Linked DNA regions of Homo sapiens: regions 2 and 3 are each linked to region 1. Evidence: promoter capture Hi-C in 16 types of primary human blood cells and fetal thymus (Javierre and others, 2016). All regions are on one chromosome and are shown on one strand. The core of a region is centred on a gene start or on the middle of the fragment in contact, and the rest is flanking DNA. Distances in the headings are between cores, read along the strand shown. Region 1 holds the start of ATP9B (ATPase phospholipid transporting 9B (putative)). Region 2 overlaps ATP9B (ATPase phospholipid transporting 9B (putative)). Region 3 overlaps ATP9B (ATPase phospholipid transporting 9B (putative)).

What was found. Contacts are between HindIII fragments. The CHiCAGO score rates a contact against its expected background, and 5 or more counts as called.
Region 2: a fragment that was not itself captured here is called in contact with the fragment with the promoter of ATP9B in region 1 in 2 of 17 cell types (M2 macrophages and M0 macrophages); the score reaches 7.3 in M2 macrophages.
Region 3: a contact is called between a fragment that was not itself captured here and the fragment with the promoter of ATP9B in region 1, in 1 of 17 cell types (M2 macrophages). The highest score is 6.2, in M2 macrophages.

The regions. Positions count from the first base shown.
Region 1 is chr18:79,066,945-79,071,080 of GRCh38, forward strand. ATP9B (ATPase phospholipid transporting 9B (putative)) reads left to right here and starts at 2,450. Exons shown (of 30, transcript NM_198531.5): 1 at 2,450-2,585. The coding sequence starts at 2,467. The HindIII fragment of the contact is 22,095 bases long and covers 1-4,136 here.
Region 2 is chr18:79,246,765-79,250,900 of GRCh38, forward strand. The region is part of intron 11 of ATP9B (ATPase phospholipid transporting 9B (putative)); the gene reads left to right. Among named protein-coding and RNA genes, the nearest start is that of NFATC1, 150 kb to the right of the region's middle. RefSeq lists a silencer at 1-26 and an enhancer at 3,245-4,031. The HindIII fragment of the contact is 2,033 bases long and covers 1,073-3,105 here.
Region 3 is chr18:79,209,254-79,213,389 of GRCh38, forward strand. The region is part of intron 10 of ATP9B (ATPase phospholipid transporting 9B (putative)); the gene reads left to right. Among named protein-coding and RNA genes, the nearest start is that of ATP9B, 140 kb to the left of the region's middle. The HindIII fragment of the contact is 2,916 bases long and covers 512-3,427 here.

The sequences.
Region 1 (4,136 bases), core at 1,200-3,699:
AGGAGATGCTGTTGTCACTGTCAGGTGTTGAGTGAGGGTGAGGAGATGTTGTCACTGTCAGTTCTTGAATGAGGCTGAGATGCTGTTGTCACTTTCAGGTGTTGAGTGAGGGTAAGGAGATGCTGTTGTCACTGTCAGGTGTTGAGTGAGGGTGAGGAGATGGTGTCACTGTCAGTTGTTGAGTGAGGGTAAGGAGACAGGAGACGGTGTTGTCACTGTCAGTAGTTGAGTGAGGGTCAGGAGATGGTGTTGTCACTGTCAGTTGTTGAGTGAGGGTACACTGTCAGTTGTTGACTGAGGCTGAGGAGATGCTGTTGTCACTCTCAGGTGTTGAGTGAGGGTGAGGAGATGGTGTTGTCACTATCAGTAGTTGACTGACAGTGAGGAGATGCTGTTGTCACTGTTGGAAGTTGAGTGAGGGTGAGGAGAAGGTGTTATCACTGTCAGGTGTTGAGTGAGAGAGAGGAGATGGTCTGTCACTGTCAGATGTTGAGTGAGGGTCAGGAGATGATGGTGTTACTGTCAGTAGTTGAGTGAGGGTCAGGAGATGGTGTTGTTGCTGTCAGTTATTGAGTGAGGGTGAGAAGACGGTGTTGTCCCTGTCAGTAGTTGAGGGTCAGGAGAAGGTGTTGTCATTGTCAGTTGTTGAGTGAGGGTGAAGAAATGTTGTTGTCACTTTCAGTTGCTGAGTGAGGGTCAGAAGATGTTGTCACTGTCAGGTGTTGACTGAGGGTCAGATGGTGTTGTCACTGTCAGTAGTTGAGTGAGGGTGAGAAGATGCTGTTGTCACTGTCAGTAGTTGAGTGAGGGTGAGGAGACGGCGTTATCACTGTCAGGTACTGAGTGAGGGTGAGGAGATGGTGTTACAGTGCCAGTGCTGTGAGAATGAGATGGTGTTATCAATATCAGTTGTTGAATGTGGGTGAGAGATGGTGTGAACAGTGTCAGCGGCTGAGAGTGAGGTAGAGAAATAATGGGTGAGGCCATTGTCAATTAGGAGGCCATTGGCGTCTTTTGAAAGTAGTTAGTGTCTGTGGAGTGGCATGTATTCAGGTTACATGAAAAGCAGCTGAGAAGCAAACTGGCAATCAGAGTGGCAGCAACAAATTAAGAATATTCATATTCATAAAGACCATTTTTTATAATGAAAAAGTAATACATGCAGATGGGGGAAGATCACCTGAACCTTGAGAGGTGGAAGATGTAGTGAGCCGTGATCAAAACATTACACTCCAGCCTGGGTAACAGAGACCCCATCTCCAAAAAACAGAAAAGAAAAGCATTTATAAGTTCATGTTGAACAGTGTTTCAAACACATAGACAAAATTTATATGTCATGAAAATGGAATATCAGAAAAACATTGTTTAAAAAAACACAAAGTGAGTAAACCATTAATACGTGAGGTGAGCGGTGCATCAGCTTGCCGGCTTCCAGCTGCAGCGGGTGATGGAGGTGGAAGGGAGCTGTCCTCGGGACAGGAAATGAAACAAACCCAACCAAAGCCGTGTATTCGTTTATTCAATATCGTTTTGCTTTCTTGTGTAGACTGAGGGTGTAAACCTCGTTTCTGACAGTCGCCTATAGGACTTTTCAGCAGGCTGTGGGCCTAGAGGTGGGGGATGTGGAATCAAGCTAAAGACCCAGAACCAGAGAAAGAAGGAAGCAGCAGTGAGGAAGCAGGACAAGAACATCTCGGAAATTCAGCCCGGCGCGGTGGGCGCGCCTGCAGTCGCGGCGCTTTGGGGGCCCGGGCCACGTAGCACGACCCTGCCTGTGAACGCACAGACACCAGCGGTTCCAAGGGCGCGGGCAGGAAGCGGGCACCGAAGGCAGGCTGGAGAAGCGCGGGGCGGAAGCAAGAAGCCGCGCGGCGAGGAGGGCGCGTGGGGCCCCACACAGCCATGGGGCGCGCGTACTACTGGCAGCGCAGGCTCTGGACCGCTAAGGAGGCCGCGCGCGCCCACGCGTGTCCCCGGCAGAGCTTCCAGGAGACGGCTGCGAGGCCCTTCCACCCGCGGACCAGAGCGCGCCGGGTCGAACCACGACCCACGTGCAGGCCCTCGCGCGCTACCGGAAGGCCAGCCTGTGGCGCACGCGCGCCCCGCCCCGCCGATCGGTGACGTCATCGGGCCCGTCACGAGGCGGGGGCGGGGCCTCGGAACGCGACGCCCCCCGTCCCAGCTTTAGCCACTCGTGACGTCATTGCCCGGACTCCACTGCCTCCTGCGCCGCGCTTTTGCCACCCTGGGCACGTCATCGTGCGCCGACGCCAAACGAGGGCGGGGCCTAGGGACGCCACACCTTCCGCGCCGCCGCTCGTTACGTCATCGGACCTCGCCGCTTGGCGGAGGCGGGGAAGGCCCGCAGGCGGCGCCTCAGCCGGGGTTGGCGCTGAGGGGAGAGGGCGGGGAAAAGGTGGCGAATTGAGGGGAAAGTGGGAGGGGCGGGAAAGGGGCGGTCGGAACATGGCGGACCAGATCCCGCTTTACCCGGTGCGTAGCGCAGCGGCGGCCGCAGCCAACCGCAAACGCGCGGCCTACTACAGCGCCGCGGGGCCCAGGCCGGGAGCCGACCGGCACAGCAGGTAACCGAGGCGGCACTGGCCCCGTTCCCCGCCGACGCTCCCCGGGGCCCCCAGCCCACCGCAGGAACCCGGAGCCGGGCGGGTCTGGGGTCGCTACCGGCGCGCCCCATCTGTTCGCTGGGAGCCGGGAGTCCTTGGCGTTCTGAGCGCGCCGCAGCTGTGGCGTCCGCCGGTGGTGAGGGCCGCGGGCAGCTGCCGGGGCGAGCGGCTGCATCCCCGGGACGCCTGGGCCGAGCGTAGGAGCCAGAACGGGAGCAGAGAACCGCGGTCCAGTGTTGAGGGGTGGCTGCTCTCCTAAAGTAAACGGGGATCAAAAGTGCTAACTTCTCGGATACTTCAGAGTCTCCGAAACTTGTTCTTGTAGCCCTGTGAATTGTGAAGGTGACGGATGTAACTTTTAATTGCTTTGTTAAAAACACACTTCTTATTGAAATGACTTCTCTTCGACATTTCGATATCTTTGCTAGGCACACTTTTTGTTTAAACATATATATACAAAGTGCTTTTTGTCGACAAGTAATTTTGCTTTTACGAAAGGGAAATGGGGTATTGAGAACGGTTAACTTGTTTAGTGGGGTCACAGGTTAGCAGTAGAATTAGTGTACAGACCTTTCATACTCGAGATTGCATTTAGCTCATATTTAACATTTCTCATTCAAAGAAAAGAAAATTTTAAAAAGTGTTGCTTCTTATAGTTTTTGAAGTTTTATTCCAGAGGAATTGTCGAAAACATAATTTCACTCAATATGTAGTTGCTTCAGAATTTGAGTTTTTGAATAATTTTTGTTTTCGGCCATTTGAGAGACTAACATATAGCTCAAAGTACATACTGGAATGTTATAACGCTGATTTGAGTGTTTACCCACTAGCGATTTACTCTCGGGTAACTTATTTAAACTCAAGCCATGGTTTCCTCATCTGTAAAATGCTGGATAATATTTTTTCTTACGGGATTATTGGAGATTACAGTAGAACATGTGTAAGGTGCCCTTTTTTCAGTGCTTGGTTGGAAGTGGGTTCTGGTGTTACCTATAACAGTAATTGTGTTAGTAAATCTGTTTAATTTTAGGAGTTCTTTAGTTGGAAATGTGCCACCTGTTTCAAAATAGGTTTCCATCACAGATTGAATCCATTTTTGCCTCATGTACTTTGAAGCACTGTCATGTGGTGCACGCACATTCAAGATTTTTTGTCATCTCGGTGGATTGTTCCTTTCATTGTTAATGTTCCTCTGTCTCTGGTAATTTTCTTTGCTCTAAAATCTTTATTAGATATTGATGTCGCCATTTATGCTTTTTTTTGGATTAATGTTTGCATGGTATTAGCTTTCAACTTACCTATGTTGAATTTGAAGTGAGTTTCTTGTTGGATCTTATATTTTTTATCAACTATGCCATTCTCTTTTGATTGGCATATTTACACCATTTACATTTACGATAATTACTGATATGTTAGAATATAAGTGTGCCATTTATTATCTGTGTTCTGTTTCTTCTGATTCTCATTCTGATTCCTGTTTCTTTTTTTTTTTTTTTTTGCCACTTTTTGGGT
Region 2 (4,136 bases), core at 839-3,338, 180 kb after region 1:
GGTGTGAGTACGACTCTGAGACAGATGACTCTGAGACAGACGTGAGCACCGCAGCGGTGATCGGCAGTGTAGTGACTCCTACACTTCAGCCTCCTCCTCCTCCTGATTTTCAGTTAAACAATGTGGTGATTGTAAAATAAGATTAGGAATGATGTACATTAGAAAATGGATAGGCTTATCTTAATATTCAGTGCTGGATTTTTAACGTAATTTCTATACGTAGAGCAAAAATTAAATTTCCAGATAGTTTCTGGATCATTTTGCATGTTATCACATGCATATTTTTGTTTTAAATATGGCTTTGATGTATCACAAGTTGAGAACATTTGAAAGAATTTATAATACTAAAAATAAAAGTTTTAACTTACTACTTACCTTCCAGCCACTGTGTTGCTTTGCATGTGCTGACCTTTCATATATTGATTTACTTTGCGAAGGTTCTAATATATCAGTAAAGGCTGCCACACACTAACAGATGGAATCCAGTTGTCCTGTATGAACGTAGACAGTCAGCATGAGTTTTGTAAGGGCGAGCATGAGATGTGTATATGTGTATACATGTGTTCAGAGATGATGCTACTTTCTGACATTATGGACAATTATAAAAAATTCTGGTGAGTGGATACGTGTCCTAGGAAATGCTAGAGCCAGTATTGACATTTCTCAAGCGATCTAGGAGTCCAGCAGTTTGAGAAGATAACCTCATTCTGCACTCATGAAGCCCCCTTCAAACTTAGCAGGTAATATGCTTGCAAATTTTAGTAATAATTTTATCCTTAAAAACATGTTTATATAGGTCGGCGGACAGAGTGACAATCAATATGCATAGTCTGTAACATCAAAAGTTGGGTAGCTCCAGTTTGTGTAAACTAGGTGTGAGGGTTTACTTTGAACTCCCTTGTCTCTTAATTACGTGTCATATGTTGGTTTCAAACGTGGTTTTGCTTCCCTGTTTAGTAGCTGATTCTTGCATTAATACTTTTCTTATTTATACAAAAAATATAGTACTTTTTTATGTTAATGTTCAAGGGAAAACATTTTATATAATAACTATATAGCAAGCAAGGGAAAAAGCTTAAATTCTGAGTATAGAATAGGCAAAATGTTAAATTTCTTGGTAGGCAAACATGTAGGTTATGAAATAATTCTTTCAGAATAGACTTTAAATTGTCTATTGTGTAAATACAGGTTTTGATTTTTAAGAACTAAGGTGATAAATTGTAACATTAAGAATTGTTGTGCTGATACTTATTTAGGGAATTCTTAAAGCACAGATTATTGAGCCAACAGACTATAATGGCCAAAAGAAACCCTTCTTATTTCGCAGATCACTGAGGCGATAAACGATAATGGCTCAGCCACATCTATAGTGTGCGGTCAGCCTGCATGTACTACACACACTTAAGGCTTAGTAGTTCATATCCAAAAAAGAATAATAAACTTCAGAAGGAAAAAGACTATGTAGCATCACTTTTTAAAAACTAATACTTTTAATTTAAACTTCGTAATGGAAAAGTTGTTGCTCTAAAATTTAGTACTTAGATTTAGTGCATGAGTTTCATTTATTTGAAATGCAGAAACACAAATGAAGGTCTGAAAATTACTTATTTTTTTCTTGTCTCTTAAGATTCTACTAGCAGTGGAAAATATAGGGCTTATTTGTTTCAAAGATACTTAAAAGAATATGCTTTTTATAGGAATTTCAGTTAGGTTAATGCATAGCCCTATATCAGTTTTGTAGTCAGGGTCCAAATTCGAAATGAAGAACTGATCCACAAATAGTTCAGCTGATGAAAGACAAGCAGTGTTAACAGTTGTGTTTTTCTGTACGTAGTCAGCCATGTACAAAGCTGTTCTTCTCTGCTAGTGCAGAGTAGCATGAATGAATTGGGTGTCAGAGTCGAGGCTTTTCAAATTGTCCTATATTCACAGGGAAACTACAGGACAAACTAAAATAATTTAGTTTTCTGCAAGAGTTTAAATTGGCTATTTGAAGTTTTGCATTTTACTATTCTAAACTACTTCTTTGTAAGGGGTAAGTACGCGTGAGTTTTAAAAGATGGGTGAGAGTGTTTGGATGCCGACATCCTGTTCACCCAGGGTGACATCATCAGCAGTAAGTGTTGCACAGGCACTTTGTTGAATCATGGATAGGGCCTGAGACTTTACAGCATTCGACGTCTGCTCCAATTTGCCGTGTACATTGATTGCTTAGGAACTTAGTAGTATGATGTGAGTTTTAATTTTGAGATGGTTTGAAGTGTTGCTGTGTCATGGAGATAAGGTCTGATTCTCACTCGTCCGAGCATTCATTTAAAAAAAAAAAAAAGCCTGATCTTTTCTTGATTAAGCAGGAGAATACCGTATTTACCCTTTATTGTTGGTATAAACCATTATTTTACTGAGAACCATTAGCTATTTAAAACTTGGTACATAAATTAAAGAGGAGCTAAATGGATTTGTGATCGTTGCCATTAGTAGCATTTTAGATTATACAGGCAATTATTGTGTTCATTATCCTAGAACAGCCCCTTTGCAGAATCATTGTGGTTGTCTTAGACATTATGCACAAATTTTCCCTTGGAGATTAAAATTTGCAGTAGCATATTTAATTTTGTTATTGCAGTTGTTTCAAATAAATATTATGACAAGTAGAAGAAAATTTGCTTTACTAATATAGGAGATGACAATGAATGTTGAAAATAACTTCTAAGTGTATTTACATTACCTTTTCTTAAATAGTCGTAATTACTTCAAGTGATTAATATATTTTATGGGTGAAAAGTTTACAGTCATGGCAAAAGTTATCTGGTCTGTCCAGGTATTTAAGACATTTTTTAAAGAAGGAAGAGATCCACATCAAAACTAAAGTTACCACCTTCTTTATAGAATCTGTAACTTTATAAGTTAACTGGTTTTTATTTTAAATAGTTTATAAGAGTTCAGATTGTATTTTAGATCAGTTGAAGAAAAGCATGTTTCAGAGAAATTGAATATTAAAAGATTATTAATTGAAGTGGGTTAAAAAAATGCAAGTGTTGAAATGTGTCTTTTCTTCTGTTTTGTTAGAATTGAAAAAATAAAATAAAATAAAAGCAACCTACAAGCTTTACACTATATGCTGTAGTTTGGTTACAAGTTATATTCCAGGAACAACAGTCATAGTTCAGAAAATGCCACCTGCAAGGCACAGCCCATCCTTGAAAAGTTATATTTTATTCCACTAAATGTTTTATTGCTCTTAAGTTTAAAGGGGTTGGGAGAAGACAACATATACTTGGCTTCAAAGTGATTACATTCACTAGTCAAGCATCTGACCACATCTGTCTTCATCAATGAGAAAGGTAATAATGCTTTGATGATCTGCATATCGGTGTGCAGTGGGCGGCTTTGAATGTTTCCATCCAATACGTGGCATTTTTTGAAAGGAAACTTTGTATTCATTTCTGAATGTTTTTGTCCTGGCTTTTACAGTTCCTCACTGCTATGTTGCAGGGGAAAGTGTGAGGTGGTGGTTATGCATTTTGCAAGACAGTGATTCTTTATTTTATTACAAAAAAAGACCAACTCTGGAAGGCCAGATTAAATCATTCCTTTCACTTTTTAATGGGATTTGGATGAATAGAGTAAAATATGCACTTTGCATTCATTGATAGCATCTTTAGGTTGAGGTAATTGAGTCTTTTTTCCCTGAGTGAATGAATAATGACTTCATCTGATCCTCAGTGAGGCCTGAAACTTAGACCGCCTTTGTCACAGCAAAAGGATCTGGGCTTTGAAACATGCTCTACTTCCCTGGCTTAATTTTTCTTCATTTTAATCCAAAAACCTATTTTTCTCAATAATTCAAGCATAAACTATGTAGTAGTTGAAGTAGCGGAAATTGCACGATATTTGTCCTGGTTGTGCTGCTTTTTAAATAGAGCTGATAAATCAGCCGCTGTGGTCTTCAGCTGCCCCATTCTCAAGGGAAGGCACAGCCCATACCCGCAGCAGCGTTGGGAACTTCAGAACTGGTTGAGTACCGCTCCCTTTCCGACCATTTGTGATCTGGGGGAGCGGCGCTGTTACTGGTACTGTGGCTGACCCAGAGAAGAGAAAGCCCCATGCTGGAGCTCCGAGATGCTGCTGTGGAC
Region 3 (4,136 bases), core at 720-3,219, 140 kb after region 1:
CACATGGGGAGAAGACTTACATTTTCCATACATAGTTATTGCAGCCTGTTTCTTCCATCTCACTGATATTTGTTAATTAAGAATCATTCGTGAAGATAGTAATGCTTCCCTTTTTAAAAATAAATTTCATCTTTTTTTCCTGGTGCTGCATAAACATATATTAAATGTTGTTACTGATCCCTAGTACTGTTGATTTGTGACCCTTCTCCTGAGGGAGACTAAAGCTGCTTGAGCTAAAGGCTTTTGAGACATCCCATACGGTTCCCTGAACAAAGTTTTCTCTCCTGACCTCAGTTCTCTTGATGACCTTGGCAAGTGGGCCCGACTAGTTGGACACTAATGAGGCATCGTAACATGCCGGCCCCATCCTGTCCATTCTGTTCTCTTTGCCATCTAGCATTCAGTGTTGTGTCTTCCTAGTGGGCATGAAGACGGCTTTAAAACCATCCACTCGAGAAGCTTAATTAAGGTACCTTTAATGTTAGTTTGTATTCGAACATCTTTAAATGTAAGCTTTAATTTCAGCTCTTTTAGTACATACATATCTTTATTTAAAAGCCTTGTTAATGTGAACAGTTACACATTCTATATACCACACTGCTATATCCTAAGGAATGTTTGAAAGATTTTAAGATTTCCAGAGTAACCTAGGCACTCTTGTATTCTTTGTAATTGATTACAAGTTGAGAATTCCTTTTACTCTTATACTTTAAAAGTCGTATCTCAGTTGAATTCAAGTTGACTCTGGAGGGGAAGTGAACTCAGTGCTTCCTCCCCATCCCTAGAGTTCTGAATGCATGGGAACCGGGACTCAGGTTAGACACAGACAGGCAGATGCAGCAGACGAGAGGTGAGCCAAGGCAGGACACAGAGAGCCTGCTGTGCTGCCGGAGGTTTCACTTCCCATGTGGATCCAGAAAACTTGCTCTCTAAAATGCAGAACTGGGTCCTGGAGAACCATCGTGTTTATTATACTGATGAGCATACAAAGGAGTGTTCCTGATACTCAGCTGTCACAAAACTGGAAGGAAAGCTGGGCTCTCTAAGGCAAGGTTGACAAAAGTGTGACGGGGCTGTCAGAGGGCAATCCCTGGCCATGTGGACCCACGCCTGGGTGCGGGTCTCCTTGTCACTCAGTGGGCCAGCCGTGTGGTGTCTAGACCTGGGTGAGGGTCTTCTGTGTCTCTGTGTCTCAGCCATGTGGACTCTAGACCTGGGTGTGGGTCACCTGTGTCTCTGTGTCCTGGCTGTGTGGACTCTAGACCTTGGTTGGGGGTCTCCTTTGTAGTCTGTGCACCAGTTTTGGTCTAGGTTGTTTACATCCTGGGGCTCAGTTCACGGTCTTCATCAGTTTTCCTGCACTTGGTGCGTGGTTGGAGTTGTACGTGCAGTGCTCAGTGTCTGCCTTGCTATCATCGGGTCCAGCCCGGGAGCGCCTGCCCCAGGGAGCAGTGCACACTGGGGTTCTGTGGAAATTGGCTCCTGGAGGGCATCTGCGAGTTGGAGTGTGTTCCAGAGGCTGGTGTATGTGGCCCTGCCTGCTTTTGCTAACGGTATCTAGCAGGTTTTGGGTGTATAATTGAGAGTCAACAAATACATTGATTTGTTAATACCTCTGTCTCTCATTAGACACACATGAAATACATATTTACTTTTAGTAAGCATTTCACATCATTTTGATTTGATAACTTAAGGCCATTAATTGTTTTGTTAAAGTGGTCTAGGTTTTATATTTTGTGTTTTTAAATAATTTTCTATGAATCATCTTAATTAATTTGAATTTGTGAGGATTGGTTATCTGCAAATTAAACATATCAGTGGTTAGAAATAGCAACTAAAAGTATTGCAATAGGCCTATCATTTGAAATATTGAGTGGACTACTTGTTTGGAAGTGCTGGATTATGATTTCTGGTATAAACTAGAAATGTTTAAATAAAGGAGAGTATATTTTTCTACAAAATTTGACCTTGTTAGCATTCTTTGTCTTGCTTTGCAACATGGAAGTTGTTTGCTTAAAATACAACTGTAGTCAATTAGAAGGTGGTATAATTTTGCATGAAATTTTCTATATAGCCTGTAGCAAGGAAGGCACATAGTAACTAACAGAGTAATTATTATCCCACTCACATGAAATTGTGATTGAACAGAAGTTGGACATGATAGGGTTGGACTATAGAATGACTTGCAGACCATCCACATAGCAGCCTCTTTGAAGTAGGCTAAGTCTCGAGGGCCCTAGTCATGGGGTCTGTGGAGTGTAGGAGTAAATGTGGTCATATTTTATGCCTCCCTTTTTGGACCCAAAGCATCTGAATATTTAATATTAATTTTTACCTGTAGTCAATTTGAAGTGTGCAGTTATGGATCAGGCAAATGTAATCACTGGCTTTGAAGATTAAGTGCTCCTAAATCTTTTAAAATGTTGTCTTGGGATAAATGAAGTTAAATTTTTGATTTAATGATGAATACTGGACCACCATCATTTTTAGGGTCCTGTTAAGAACTGGTTTGTTGTTGTGGTTGTGGTTTTAATCTACCAACATGGTCCTGAACTCAGGTCTTTCTGATGTAGAAGTTTCTCCAGTTGGAGCGCGTTGTGAGGGAGGTGGATCTTGATTTTACACTGAAAATATGGGTTAAAGTTTTGGAATTCTTCTGTTTAAGTATTTCATTGAGTGAGAAATCTTTGTGACATTTATATTTGTCACATTCAGTCTCCTGTTATCTTATACGACACAAAATGAGTTTATCATACTTTGTTGCCCTCTCATGTCTCATTTCGCAATCCACAGTTAATCCCTTTCCTCTGTTTTGCCTTGTATACTCAGGTTTTACTCAGTCTTTTAGCCTATTGTACTTCATAAGTACATACCCTTTGTGAAAGAGAATGGAAAATGTCCCAAATATTTCTGCACTGATTCTAGTTACGTTAGATATTAAAAAGCATGACACTCAGAAAAATTCATTTAATCTAATTCTAGTAAGTGTTGATTTTTCATGAGAATCAAGTGAGAGAATACTTACGAGAGCCTTTAGCAAACTTTAACAGATTATACAAATATTGTACCAGGACCTCTGTTAAAAATGTATAACATATGCCTTGTTATGTATCACATTGAATTGAGGTACTGTGCATTGTAAGGCCACTCTAGAGTCCACTTTGCTCATCAGTCAACCTGCTTTCAGCTCAACGGTTTCTAGCTTGATTAATTCTTGCAAAGCCTTTTCTGAGATTTGCTCATTCTGCTAATGTTAAAAAATAAGTTAATTTTGCAGTTTGCCTTCTTACATCATTGTGATAATTTAACATTAGTGGGATGTTTATATTTTGATTTAAACTAGATTGGCAAAACAGAAAATACTGATCAGATGATATTTAATATTTAGCTTCACTGATGTGAAGTAATTCTATGATCTCCTTTTGAAAGCTTTTTATAGTATTGTATTATATATTTAATATTTCTCTGCGTAGTAAGTATAGTCATCTAATCTCAGAAGTTTATGTGGATAATAGTAATAAAGACGGCATTTGTGCATCGGGGAGCTTATATTCTAAGTGTGAGCTGGCCTTGCCTTTCATGAACTTTTACAAACTGAAGCCTCACACTTCTCAGTGACACTCAATTAAAAGAGAAATATATATAATCTCCACACATATCCCTGCTGGGGAATACTTCACATCTTCCACCTTCCTAGATTTTCTAGAGAGGAAGGTGTAAGCCATGTGATATGTATAATATGTAACATATCAAGGTTCACGAAAAGCCGGGAGTTCATATCAATCATCTTTACTTCAAAGAGCCTGTCTTATGATGCTCTGCATTTTACATGTTAAGTTAATGTGACATCAGAGTTTTCATATAATTATTATAGTTAATTCTGTAATGGTTGGTAATTGCACATTATGTGTATATACTTTCTCACCTTAATTGTGTTTCTCACCTTCAAAATTTACAAAAAATTAAGGATGAAAATTAGGAATATAAATTATATATGGCTGTAGTTTCAGAAAGAGATTTCCATGGTTTTTAATACTGACATTCTAGAGATAAGTGCCCTTTAGCCTTTGAAATCTATCGGTCATACCAAGGATATTTTATTATTCTTTTCTCTTAAATTTAAAAATTATTATATC